Regions from separate parts of the Homo sapiens genome. Here all the other regions are linked to region 2. Evidence: promoter capture Hi-C in human tissues and cell types (Jung and others, 2019). All regions are on one chromosome and are shown on one strand. The core of a region is centred on a gene start or on the middle of the fragment in contact, and the rest is flanking DNA. Distances in the headings are between cores, read along the strand shown.

Region 1 (3,563 bases), core at 131-2,630, 140 kb before region 2:
CTCCAGATTATCCACTCACCCTTCTAGAAGGTCTAACGACCATTAGTCATTTTTGTCTTTTGGAACAAGCCAACCAAAACAAAAAGGTAAATTTTTTTTTTTCCTGAGTTCAAGGCAATTTTCATGTATTGTTTTGTCTTTGGGCTATGACTGTTTCAAATAAGTAACGTATGTATGTAATGTCTGTAACTAATATGCGTATGGAGGTGATGCAAATGTGAATGCAAATATTACATAAGTCACGTACACACGTATGCAAATGCATGTGTGTTAGCAATGCAAGTGCCTACGCAAATGCATATGCAAATGCATGTATATAATTAACGCAAATGCATAAGTATGTATGTCAGCCATGCAAACATAGTTTTCTTCCTGCTGGCACTCCCTGTGCCAGCCCTTTGCCCATTGTTCCATCAGTAGCCTGTGAGATAACTTATAAAGCCACTTGTTTGATTTTAGGCTTATAGTCATCTTTTTCCATGTATTTTTTACTTGCTATCATGGTGTTCATGAAATCTGAGTAGGCAGACATTTTAGCTGTTGGTTATTCTACCCTGTAGAATACCCTGGGATTAAGTCTTAGAATACATCTAACACTTTGGTTGAATGGTTGAAAAGTTTGTAATTTAGAACATCAGACTCACAGCTGTCTCTGTGAAAGAGAACCATGGGTTGAAATGCACAGAGAAGCTTATTGCTCCCAGACCACCACATGTATGAGTTGCTTAGAAGAGAGTCCAACAGCCCAGACCTAATCCCGCTAGCACTGCTGCCCTCGTGGGAAGAAAAACCATTCCACAGACACAGCCTGCCTCATGTATTCATTTTAATTTTTAGACCATGGCTGCAGGTGATCCTGCCAACTTGAGGAATGCCAGAAATGCCATTTTGGAAGAGCTGCCTCGAACTGTTAACACCATGGCCCTTCTCTGGAATGTTCTCAGAAAGGAGGAGACTCAAAAGAGACCTGTCGATCTCCTAGGGGCCACGAAGGGATCCTCTTCCGTTTACTTTAAAACCACCAAAGTAAGAGGATGTCTCTGTAGTTCTGTCATTTACTTGGTCTTGTATTGTTCCACCCAAAATAAATGTGTATAGGAAAGTGTGCATGATAAACAGATGTGCTCAATGAAACCCAAGTCAGAGATCAGAAGTAGAAATCTCTAGTTCATTTGTTATCAGTAAGTTTCCTATACCTGAAATGGAGGAGTCTGAGTGGTTTCAGCCTGTTTTCTTCTTATTTTCCATTCACCTTATTTTGTAGTTAAAAATAAAGTCTTGGCCGGGCATGGTAGCTCACACCTGTAATCCCAGCACTTTGGGAGGCCAAGGCGGATGGATCTCCTGAGGTCAGGAGTTCAAGAACAGCCTGGCCAACATGGTGAAACCCCATCTCTACTAAAAATACAAAAATTAGCCAGGTGTGGTAGCACGTGTCTGTAATCCCAGCTACTCAGGAGGCCGAGGCAGGAAAATCGCTGGAACCTGGGAGGCGGAGGTTGCAGTGAGCCAAGATTGCACCACTGCACCCCAGCCTGGGCAACAGAGCAAAACCCCATCTCAAAAAAAAATAAAAATAATTAAAATAAATAAAGTCTCTAGAGCTAGGCGCGGTGGCTCATGCTTGTAATCCCAGCACTTTGGGAGGCCAAGATGGGGTGGATTGCTTGAGCTCAGGAGTTCAAGACCAGCCTGGCCAACATGGCGAAACCCCATCTCTACAAAAAATACAAAAATTAGCTGGGTATGGTGGCAGGCACCTGTAGTCCGAGCTACTCAGGAGGCCGAGGCAAGAGGATTGCTTGAGCCTGGGAGGTGGAGGTTGAAGTGAGCTGAGATCACGCCAGTGCACTCAAGCCTGGGTGACAGAGTGAGACCCTGTCTCAAAAACAATAGTCTCTAGTGGTTCAAAGCGGGGATACCTAGATCCTCACCTCTAAATGATCTAGAGACCCCAGCCTTGAGTCTCTAAAGCATTTCTGCGAGACAGCTCATCTCTGTTCTGCTTTTAGCGGTGCCTGTCAAACATGGCCCCATCAGAGTGGAATGTCAGGGTGCCTTTGAGTTCTTAAACCAAAAACGCACAACTGTGAATATTTATATTATAGTTTAGTCTTTGGTTTTCAGTGTCTGCCTCAGAAGGCTGTAGGCGCAGGACTCGGTCGCTCACCATCTGTGTTACTGTGTGTGGCATCTCAGAATTATCTGCCACATCTGACATCAGTTGAGAGCCCCCAGGTGCCAGATGTGGCCGCAGGGATGAGCCTTGCCATCCTGCATTTAGGTACCACGGTGCGTTGTTGGCCTCCAGACATTCTGTCGGTTCCTAGGGTGCCAAGGGAATTCTGTATTTCAAGCTCCTATAAGAACCTGCTCTTAAAAAGATTCAGAAAACCTTTTTTCTCACTCAGAAAAAAAGATTTTCTAAACCTTTTTTAGGGGAGCTTCCTGTAGCACTCAGCCTCTCTGAGCCTCCATTTCCTCGTCTGTTAAACCAGGCTGTGGCTAGCATCCTGTCCTCATGGGTTGAGGGAAAGAGTAATTACGATAAAGGCCGATGCTCATTAGGCACTTAACTCCTAGCCCTCCCTGAGGAACCCAGGGCCGGGGAGCGGGACCCCACATTAGTCCCTCTAGAGCAGAAGCCATGGTGGAAAAGAGGGGACAGCTCCATTGCTGGCTCAGTTGTATCTAATGTGAAATAAACATGGGCGGTTGTCACAGGAAGCGCTGGGTAAATCCGTCTCTTCGACAGACATTTTGTGCCTGCTGCCACGCACCAGGCTCTCTTGCTTTACCGGTGGACAAGAGAGATGAAGTCCCTGCCCCTGTGGCAGAGGCAGACATTAACTGGCAGTGTAATAACGATGTGAGCAGGGCTTCAAAGAAACACAGGGTTTCCTGAGAGTGTGTGAACAGGAGGCCTGGCCTGACCTGGGGTTCCTGAGGCGGCATGGCTTAGCTGAGGCCCCAGGCGGAGAGGATTTAACTACGGTGGGCACTGCAGGCTGAGAGAGCGGTAGGATTTACAGAGCGAGAAACGTGGCGGGAACACAGAGAAATTCATAAGTAGCAAAACAGAGGGTGCTGAGTGACATCAGGACCATGTTACAGGTTTAAATTGATTACCTGATAAAATTAGTTAAATGGTGCTTATTTCTGGAAATTGAGCAACAACTTTCCTAATGAATATAAGCCCTTCCGCAGCAGATGGAGTCAGGCTGAGGCTGTGGGGTTTCCAGATGGAAGCAGTGCTGCAAAGCCTTGCCCGGCTTCCTGCAAGACCCCCACTGTGCTCACAGCAGCAAGGGTGATATTCATCGTCTCCCGAGATGCTCCTGGCCAATCGAGCTGGCCATCCGTCTCTCCACCTTGGCTGCTCACTGCCCCTTCCCCCCGCCGGCATGACACGCCAACATCACACATCTAGCTCCTTGCGGAAAGGGTTTGATTCCTCCCATTGCTGGGATCCACCCATCAGGGAAGCACCTCAGCACAACATTGGGCACAAACATGACAGGGTCCTTGCTCTCGGTATGGACAGCAGTGGTGGTTCAATGTAT
Region 2 (3,991 bases), core at 924-3,423:
TCCCGAGTAGCTGGGATTACAGGCACACACTACCACTCTGTATAGTTTTTGTATTTTTATAGAGAAGGGGTTTTGCCATGTTGGCCAGGCTGGTCTGGAACTCCTAGCCTCAAGCAATCTGCCTGCTTTGGCCTCCCAAAGCGTTGGGATTATAGATGTGAGCCACCATGCCCGGCTCAGATTTTGATTTTAGAATGTTCACACTTACAAATGGAAATTAAAATGCCTTGAGAAGTTTTTTTTCGAAGCTGAGTTAAGAGTTAGTCCCTTTATATCAATTTTCATTATTAAAAAGTTCTCAGGAACCAAATAACATTGGTCCCCTTAAATTGAGGCAGTTCTGCTCAAAATGGATGCTTGGGGCCCAAGCTGAACAACAGTGGTTGTTGAGGAATCTAGTTAGAATTGCGTTATAGGAATTCCCTTTTTTTTTTTTTTTTTTTTTTTTGAGACAGAGTCTCGCTCTCTCGCCCAGGCTGGAGTGCAGTGGCACGATCTCGGCTCACTGCAAGCCCCGCTTCCCGGGTTCACGCCATTGTCTTGCCTCAGCCTCCCGAGTAGCTGGGACTACAGGCGCCCGCCGCCACGCCCGACTAATTTTTTGTAATTTTTGTAGAGATGGGGTTTCACCATGTTAGCCAGGATGGCCTCGATCTCCTGACCTCATGATCCGCCCACCTCGGCCTCCTAAAGTGCTGGGATTACAGGCGTGAGCTACCGCGACCGGCAGGAATTCTTTAGTCCAACATTTGTGGTGCAAACTTTGAGGTTTTGAACAAATACTTTTTTTTTTTTTTTTGAGAAAATATTTGACAGCCCAGGGCCTCTCTCTAGAGCCGCATCCCCTGCCCGTGTTGGCTCATCAAGTTGGCACTGAAGTCGGATCTCTAAAATGTTCGCCAAGAAAGCCAACTCCTTCATGTACTTTTAATACTTAAAGCATGTGTTTTTATCTTTTAAATCCACAGTTCAGAGTCGTGACACTTCAAGAGGTGGGCAGATTATTCATTTGTGAATGAACAGCATTTATGAGAAATTTGGAGAAATTTTATGTTTGAGAGACACGAAGAATCCAGAGCTTTCCAAAACAGACTGATGATCACACCCACCGGGGAGTTTATGAAAATGCAAGCCCCTGGAGCACGGGCCTCTGCTGGATATTCGGAATCATGGGGCTGAGTAGGGCCAGGAATCTGTACTTTTAGAACAGCCATATTATCTAAAGTATATAGTCATTCCCAGTCCAAGCTCTGTAAATCCTGAAGAGAAAAATCTAAAAACTGCATATCCGGATTATGTTATTCTAGCTTCCTGTAGAAATCAGGCTTCAAGGAGCATACAGCCATTCTCATCAACATGAGACACGGATTTGTAGGCAATTTCTGTACCTTTCATAAAGCTGGCTAAAAGCATCAGCCGGTATTTATATAAGAATCCATGTCTGTTCTTTTTTTCCAAAAATCCTAGAGCAGTTGGCTCCTCAGATAACCCTGTGTGTTTCTTTTATCCAGTAAAAGCAGCGCATCCAGAGGTACTTGTTTCCTGGCCTTCTGCGAAGCCCACAGATAAATTAGGTCTCATTTGGAAACGTCCCATTTCGAAAAGCCTGAGGTATCTATCTCTGCCTACCGACTGATTTACAGCCTCACTTTAAAATGTTAGTCTGTTCTTAAAAAGGGTTTATAACTGCATCTACTATAATAATAAAATGTAAGCAACCTTGCGCTAGGTACTGAACAATTTCATAGCTTTGAACTCTCCAAAATGTTCTAGAAGCCAATACAGAAAACCCAAAAATCTCAGTTTTTGTTTGCAGAAGGGGCAAGAGAACCGGTTGTGTTAGCCCTCCAAGTGCCCAGCGCCAGCATAGGGTCTGTCTAACACACAGCCCAGGCTCTGTAAACCTTTGCTAAAAGAGCGAATCAACAAGGAATAAGTAATGGATAATAATAATAAATAATAATGAATCCATTCTTCCTTCGGTCGTGGGTCTGGCAGGCATAAATTCCGGCCGGGATTCCGACCCCAGGGCCAGAGCAGGACTCGCCTTGGCGTCTATGAGTGGGCGGGGCTTCCCTGGGGTACCGCCCACGTCGGGCGGGACCTGAGGGCCGCTGGAGGGGCGGGGCGTCTATGAGGTCCCGCCCATGCGGGGGCGGGGCCTGCGGCGCGCGGGAAGCGGCGCGCGCTGCGCGGGAGGTGACGGTGCCTCTGACTGTCCGGGTCCCTCCAGGTACGGCTTCCCTGGCCCGGGCAGCTCCGCGGCTCTTTTGGTCGCGTCGGTCCGGGCCAGAGGCCCTCGCCGAGGGCGGGCCCCTGGGCCCCGGGATAGCTCCGGAGCGGCGCGCGTTGGGGCGGCGGGGCCCCGTCCACCCCCGGCCCCGCGCGGCCTCCTCCCGGCGGCCTCAGTCCCAGCTTCCCGGGCCCAGCGCCCGGTCCCTGGGAAAGGCGGGGTTCTCCTCTCGCCCCGCCGCCCCGGTCCCCTACCCCGTTTGGCCCCCTCTTCCGGGAGGCTCCTCCCGGGGCGGGCCCCTCCCCGGGCTCTCAGGGCGCGCCCCTAGCCCCTACTAAGCGGGGACAGGCCGTGCAGACGGCCGGGGCCCCTAGGTAGCCTTTACCTGGGTGTTTCGTTTTGCTTTTCTGGATGTAGCGGCGTATCATAAACTTGTGGATGTCAGGACCCAGCGAAGCATTTTAGGTGGAGCTAGCAAGGTGTTATTGTCAGATGGCAACGTTAACATCCTTTCCCAATGCAGTGTGCATTTTAAATGGCTCCTGGCCCCTATTCAGCGCTCAATAACCCTTTGCTGCTGTTAACACTGTTGTTTAATCCATCACCAGCATTTTGCAGCTTTCTCCTGTCTTGAAGAAGTAGAACGGTGCCCGAGAAACGTTTTTCCCCTTCGAGACTCAGGAGGATGAAAGTCATCACTTGTGAAATAGCCTGGCACAACAAGGAGCCCGTGTACAGCCTGGACTTCCAGCATGGGACGGCTGGGAGGATCCACAGACTGGCGTCTGCCGGCGTGGACACCAATGTCAGGGTAAACTGGGGCAGAGATAGACATCCGGGAACACTGCTTGAAGCAATAGTTTTCATTCTTTTACTTAAAACCAGTGTCGGCTGGGCGCGGTGGCTTACGCCTGTAATCCCAGTGCTTTGGGAGGCTGAGGTGAGAGGATCGCTTGAGTCCAGGAGTTCGACACCAGCCTGGGCAACAGCCAGACATGAAAAAGTAGCGGGACGTGGCAGTGTGCAGCTGTAGGCCCAGCTACTTGGGAAGTTGAAGTGAGAGGATCGCTTGAGCCTAGGAGTTTGAAGCAAGCAACGATCACTCCACTGCACTCCAGCCTGGGTGACAGAGCCAGACCCTTCTCTTAAGTAAATGAATGAATGAATTAACGTATGTCAACAAACTAAACTACTTTGTCATCTAGCCCAGAATGCTAAATTTCCAGGGCCTGCGGTGAACAATGAAAGCAAAAGAGAGCTGCTTTCTTTTTTTTTTTTTTGAGACGGAGTCTTGCTCTGTTGCCCAGGTGGGAGTGCAGTGGTGCAATCTCGACTTACTGCAACCTCTGTCTCCCAGGTTCAAGCTATTCTCCTGCCTCAGCCTCCCAAATAACTGGGACTACAGCCGCTCATCACCACACCTGGCTAATTTTTGTATTTTTAGTAGAGATGGGGTTTTACCATGTTGGCCAGGCTGGTCTCAAACTCCTGACCTCAGGTGATCCACCCACCTTGGCCTCCCAAAGTGCTGGGATTACAGGCCTGAGCCACCATGCCCGGCTCTGCTTTCTTATTTGATTCATTTTCCCTAGATTATTGTAACTGGACGTTCATTGTTTTGGGATCCTGATCCTGGTTCCTACTGGGTAACAAGTTGCTCTAGAAAGAAGGCGGAGGGGGACAGTAGACATTTATGTTTTAGATAGGGAGTTCTTTGATTTTATGTTTCAAAAGAAAAACTAAGTTTTCTTTCTGAAA
Region 3 (3,742 bases), core at 619-3,118, 240 kb before region 2:
CCATGTTGGCCAGCTTGATCTCGAATTCCTGACCTCAGGTGATCCACCCGCCTTGGCCTCCCAAAATGCTAGGATTACAGGCTTGAGCCACCGCACTCAGACGCAAAAAGTTCTTAACCTAAGAAGGTGAATGGTGAGAGTTGCACTTGTACTCTGTCAGTTTCTGAGTGGGATGAGATCATAGAAAGCCTGCAGGGAGAACTGCAGGTGCTTTGAAGGGGATGGAGTTTCTAAATGCAAATCTGAGCCAATATAAACGCACATTTTAAAAACTCTCCTTTTTACACAGAAGGTAACATTTCATACAATGTTTGCCACTTTGCTTTTTTTACTCCTTATGTCTGGGGCTCTCTCCAGGTTTGGTCAGAAAGCTTTTATCTTTTTTGTGGCTATATAGGGACGCAGCCATTATAGGGATGTCTTTTACCCAGTGTTGGGAAGTTTTCTCCCGATAAATTTTTGAATGGGAACTTGAGAGCTGCAAGGTATTAAGACACCTTTAAAACTCCATCCCCTTCCAGAGCACCTGCAGTTCTCCCTGCAGGCTTTCTCTGATCCCATCCCACTAAAAAACTGAGCAAGTACAAGAGTACAAGTGCAATTCTCACCATTCACCTTTTTAGGTTAAGAAGTTTTTGTGGCCGGGCACAGTGGCTCACACCTGTAATCCTAGCACTTTGGGAGGCCAAGGCAGGCAGACCACGAGGTCAGGAGATCGAGACCATCCTGGCTAACACGGTGAAACCCCATCTCTACTAAAAATACAAAAAAATTAGCCAGGCATGGTGGTGGGCACCTGTAGTCCCAGCTAGTCGGGAGGCTGAGGCAGGAGAATGGCATGAACCCGGGAGGCGGAACTTGCAGTGAGCCCAGATCGCGCCACTGCACTCCAGCCTGGGCGACAGAGCCACACTCCATCTCAAAAAAAAAAAAAAAAAAAGAAAGAAAGAAAGAAAAGAAAATATCATAAGAATGGACTTAATCCTGAGCAACATATGGAGACCCCAGCTCTACACAAAAAATGAAAATTAAAAATTAGCTGGGCATAGTGGCATGTTCCAGCTTCTCGAGAGACTGAGGTGGGAGGATCGCTTGGGCCCAGGAGGTTGAGGCTGCAGTGAGCTATGATTGTGCCACTGTACTCTAGCCTGGGCGACAGAGCAAGTCCTTGTCTCAAAAAAAAAAAAAAATGCATTTAACGCATCTGACCTACCAAACACCATAGGTCAGCCTCGTCTAGCTTCAAGGTGCTTTGAACGCTTACATTAGCCTATAGTCTGGCAAAGTCATCTAACACAAAGCCTATTTTATCATAAAATGTTGAGTATCTTATGTAATTTATTGAATCTGTACTGAAAGTGAAATGCAGAATGGTTGTATGGGGCCTCCAAGTACAGATTCTGCAGAATGCATATCGCTTCCTCATCCATCAGTGAAGTCAGTAAGTCCTAAGTGGAACCATCAGAGGGCAGGGACCATCTATCTGTATTTGACTTGCTTATTTGTTCAAGGTTCTGAGTCAATAGGACAAGCAACTACTAAGCCACTAGAGGGCGCAACTTGCCTACTCTTTCTAGAGTAAGGCAGCAGGTGTTTCGGGACCGGTGGGGCCACCTGGACCTCAGTGGAGGGTGGTGTGGGTGCAGCCCTTCCCAGGGCTGATGACGCATCTGGCTGACGAGGCTGACTGTCAGCCTCTGGCCTCTCTCCCAGAGGTGTGCCCTCAGATCAAAGAGGACACCTCCTCCCCTTAAGAGGATTTATTTCCTCGAAGGCACAGCTTCTATGATCTGTGTTTTTCTTTCTTCCTTTCCCATTCACATTTAATTCCTTGTAGCCGCCAAGTTTCTGAGAACAAAGCTGTTTAGAAAGCAATGAAGAACACAACATCACTGATGTAGTATTCCTGGCCAAAATATTGATGTGACTCTCCTCATGAGAACAGACCAATTCACTTTGAGAGAAATACTACAAAATAATGGTCTACAGTCTTCAAAAAAGTCATTGCCAACTACCTTACATTAAAATATATGAAAGAGATGTGACAATTAAATGCAATCCATGGGCCAGGTGCGGTGACTCACGCCTGTAATCCCAGCACTTTGGGAGACCAAGGCGGGCGGATCATGAGGTCAGGAGATTGAGACTATCCTCGCTAACACGGTGAAACCCCGTCTCTACTAAAAATACAAGAAATTAGCCAGGCATGGTGGCAGGCGCCTGTAGTCCCAGCTACTTGGGAGACTGAGGCAGGAGAATGGCATGAACCCGGGAGGTGGAGCTTGCAGTGAGCCGAGATCACGCCACTGCACTCCAGCCTAGGTGACAGAGCGAGACTCCATCTCAAAAAAAAAAAAAAAAACGCAATCCATGATCCTACTTTGGACCCTGGATTAAAGCAAACAAAAACTGTAAAAGAACATTACTGGGACAATTTGGACACATTTGAATATGGGCTGTATTTTAGATAATAGTGTTGTATAATGATAAATGCCTGGCATGTGGTCATAACTGTAGTAATGTAGGGGAATGCCCTTGCTACCATATATAATACTAAAGTGTTTAAGATGAAGGTTTATGATATCAGCAACTTGGAGAGAAAAAGGGACAGAGAGGGAAAAAGCAAACACAGCAAAATGTTAACAATTAGTGAACTTAGGTGATGGGCATAGGGTATTTATCGAACTATTCTTGTAACTTCTCTGTAACAGGAAAGAAATACATACATACACTTCATCTTTGAAAGTGAGAGAGAGAAGGAAGGAAAGAAATACTGAATAGTACTAGGTACCTGGGGGGATGAGTGAGGTGCTAGTTTCCAAGGACAGAGTGAGGGTATCTCTTGTGGGATTGGGGTCCACAAGAATGTGCAGCTCCCTTGCAATGGGAACTTGTGGGGAATGCCATTCAGAAAATGAAATAAAATCTACAGATCCGGCCAGGTGCGGTGGCTCATGCGTGCAACCCCAGCACTTTGGGAGGCCGAGGAAGGCAGAGCACCTGAGGTCAGGAGTTTGAGACCAGCCTGGCCAACATGGTGAAACCCCATCTCTCCTAAAAATACAAAAATTAGCTGGGCATGGTGGCGCACACCTGTAATCCCAGCTACTTGGGAGGCTGAGGCAGGAGAATCACTTAAACCCGAGATAGAGGTTGCAGTGAGCTGAGATCGCGCCACTGCACTCCAGCCTGGACAACAGAGCAAGACTCATCTCAAAGAAAAAAAAAAAGACCCTATTGGACACAGAGAATATGCATTCAGAATAATACATAATAAAAGAACTCACTAAAATTAGTGGGGTTTGATGCTGATGAAATGTGTAAATTAACACATTTACTGGTTTTTGGATTTCCACCAGTACTTCAAATTGTAAAATTTTTGGCCTACATATTTGTTTCTATGGGCACAATTGTCTCTTTAGTAGCTGTGAATCATGATCAACATGAATATTAATTCATAATTTAATGAATATTAATATTATCAAATAGGGACTAAAAAGTAATGAAATCAGGCCGGATGCAGTGGCTCACGCCTATAATCCTAGCACTTTGGGAGGCCAAGGCAGGCAGATCTCCTGAGCTCAGGAGTTTGCGACCAGCCCGGCCAACATGGAGAAACCCCGTTTCTACGAAAAATACAAAAATTATTTGAGTGCAGTGGTGTGTGCCTGTGGGCCCAGTTATTTGTGGGGCTGAGACAGGAGGATCACTTGAGTCTGGGAAGTGGAGGCTACAGTGAGCC

Evidence for each region. The method cuts DNA at HindIII sites, captures the fragments that hold promoters and counts their contacts. A contact is called where the count stands out against the background at its distance.
Region 1: a fragment that was not itself captured here is called in contact with the fragment with the promoter of CHAF1B in region 2 in 1 of the 25 tissues and cell types used here (spleen).
Region 3: a fragment that was not itself captured here is called in contact with the fragment with the promoter of CHAF1B in region 2 in 1 of the 25 tissues and cell types used here (spleen).

Annotation. Positions count from the first base shown.
Region 1 is chr21:36,247,543-36,251,105 of GRCh38, forward strand. It overlaps DOP1B (DOP1 leucine zipper like protein B), which reads left to right. Exons shown (of 37, transcript NM_001320714.2): 20 at 1-86; 21 at 838-1,026. Among named protein-coding and RNA genes, the nearest start is that of MORC3, 71 kb to the right of the region's middle. The HindIII fragment of the contact is 4,127 bases long and covers 1-3,444 here.
Region 2 is chr21:36,383,219-36,387,209 of GRCh38, forward strand. CHAF1B (chromatin assembly factor 1 subunit B) reads left to right here and starts at 2,174. Exons shown (of 14, transcript NM_005441.3): 1 at 2,174-2,233; 2 at 2,842-3,044. The coding sequence starts at 2,919. RefSeq lists silencers at 2,006-2,375, 2,406-2,505 and enhancers at 2,625-3,126, 3,127-3,626. The HindIII fragment of the contact is 18,705 bases long and covers 1-3,991 here.
Region 3 is chr21:36,140,087-36,143,828 of GRCh38, forward strand. All of the region lies in intron 2 of CBR3 (carbonyl reductase 3), which reads left to right. All of the region lies in intron 2 of CBR3-AS1 (CBR3 antisense RNA 1), which reads right to left. Among named protein-coding and RNA genes, the nearest start is that of CBR3, 6.9 kb to the left of the region's middle. The HindIII fragment of the contact is 4,156 bases long and covers 1-3,742 here.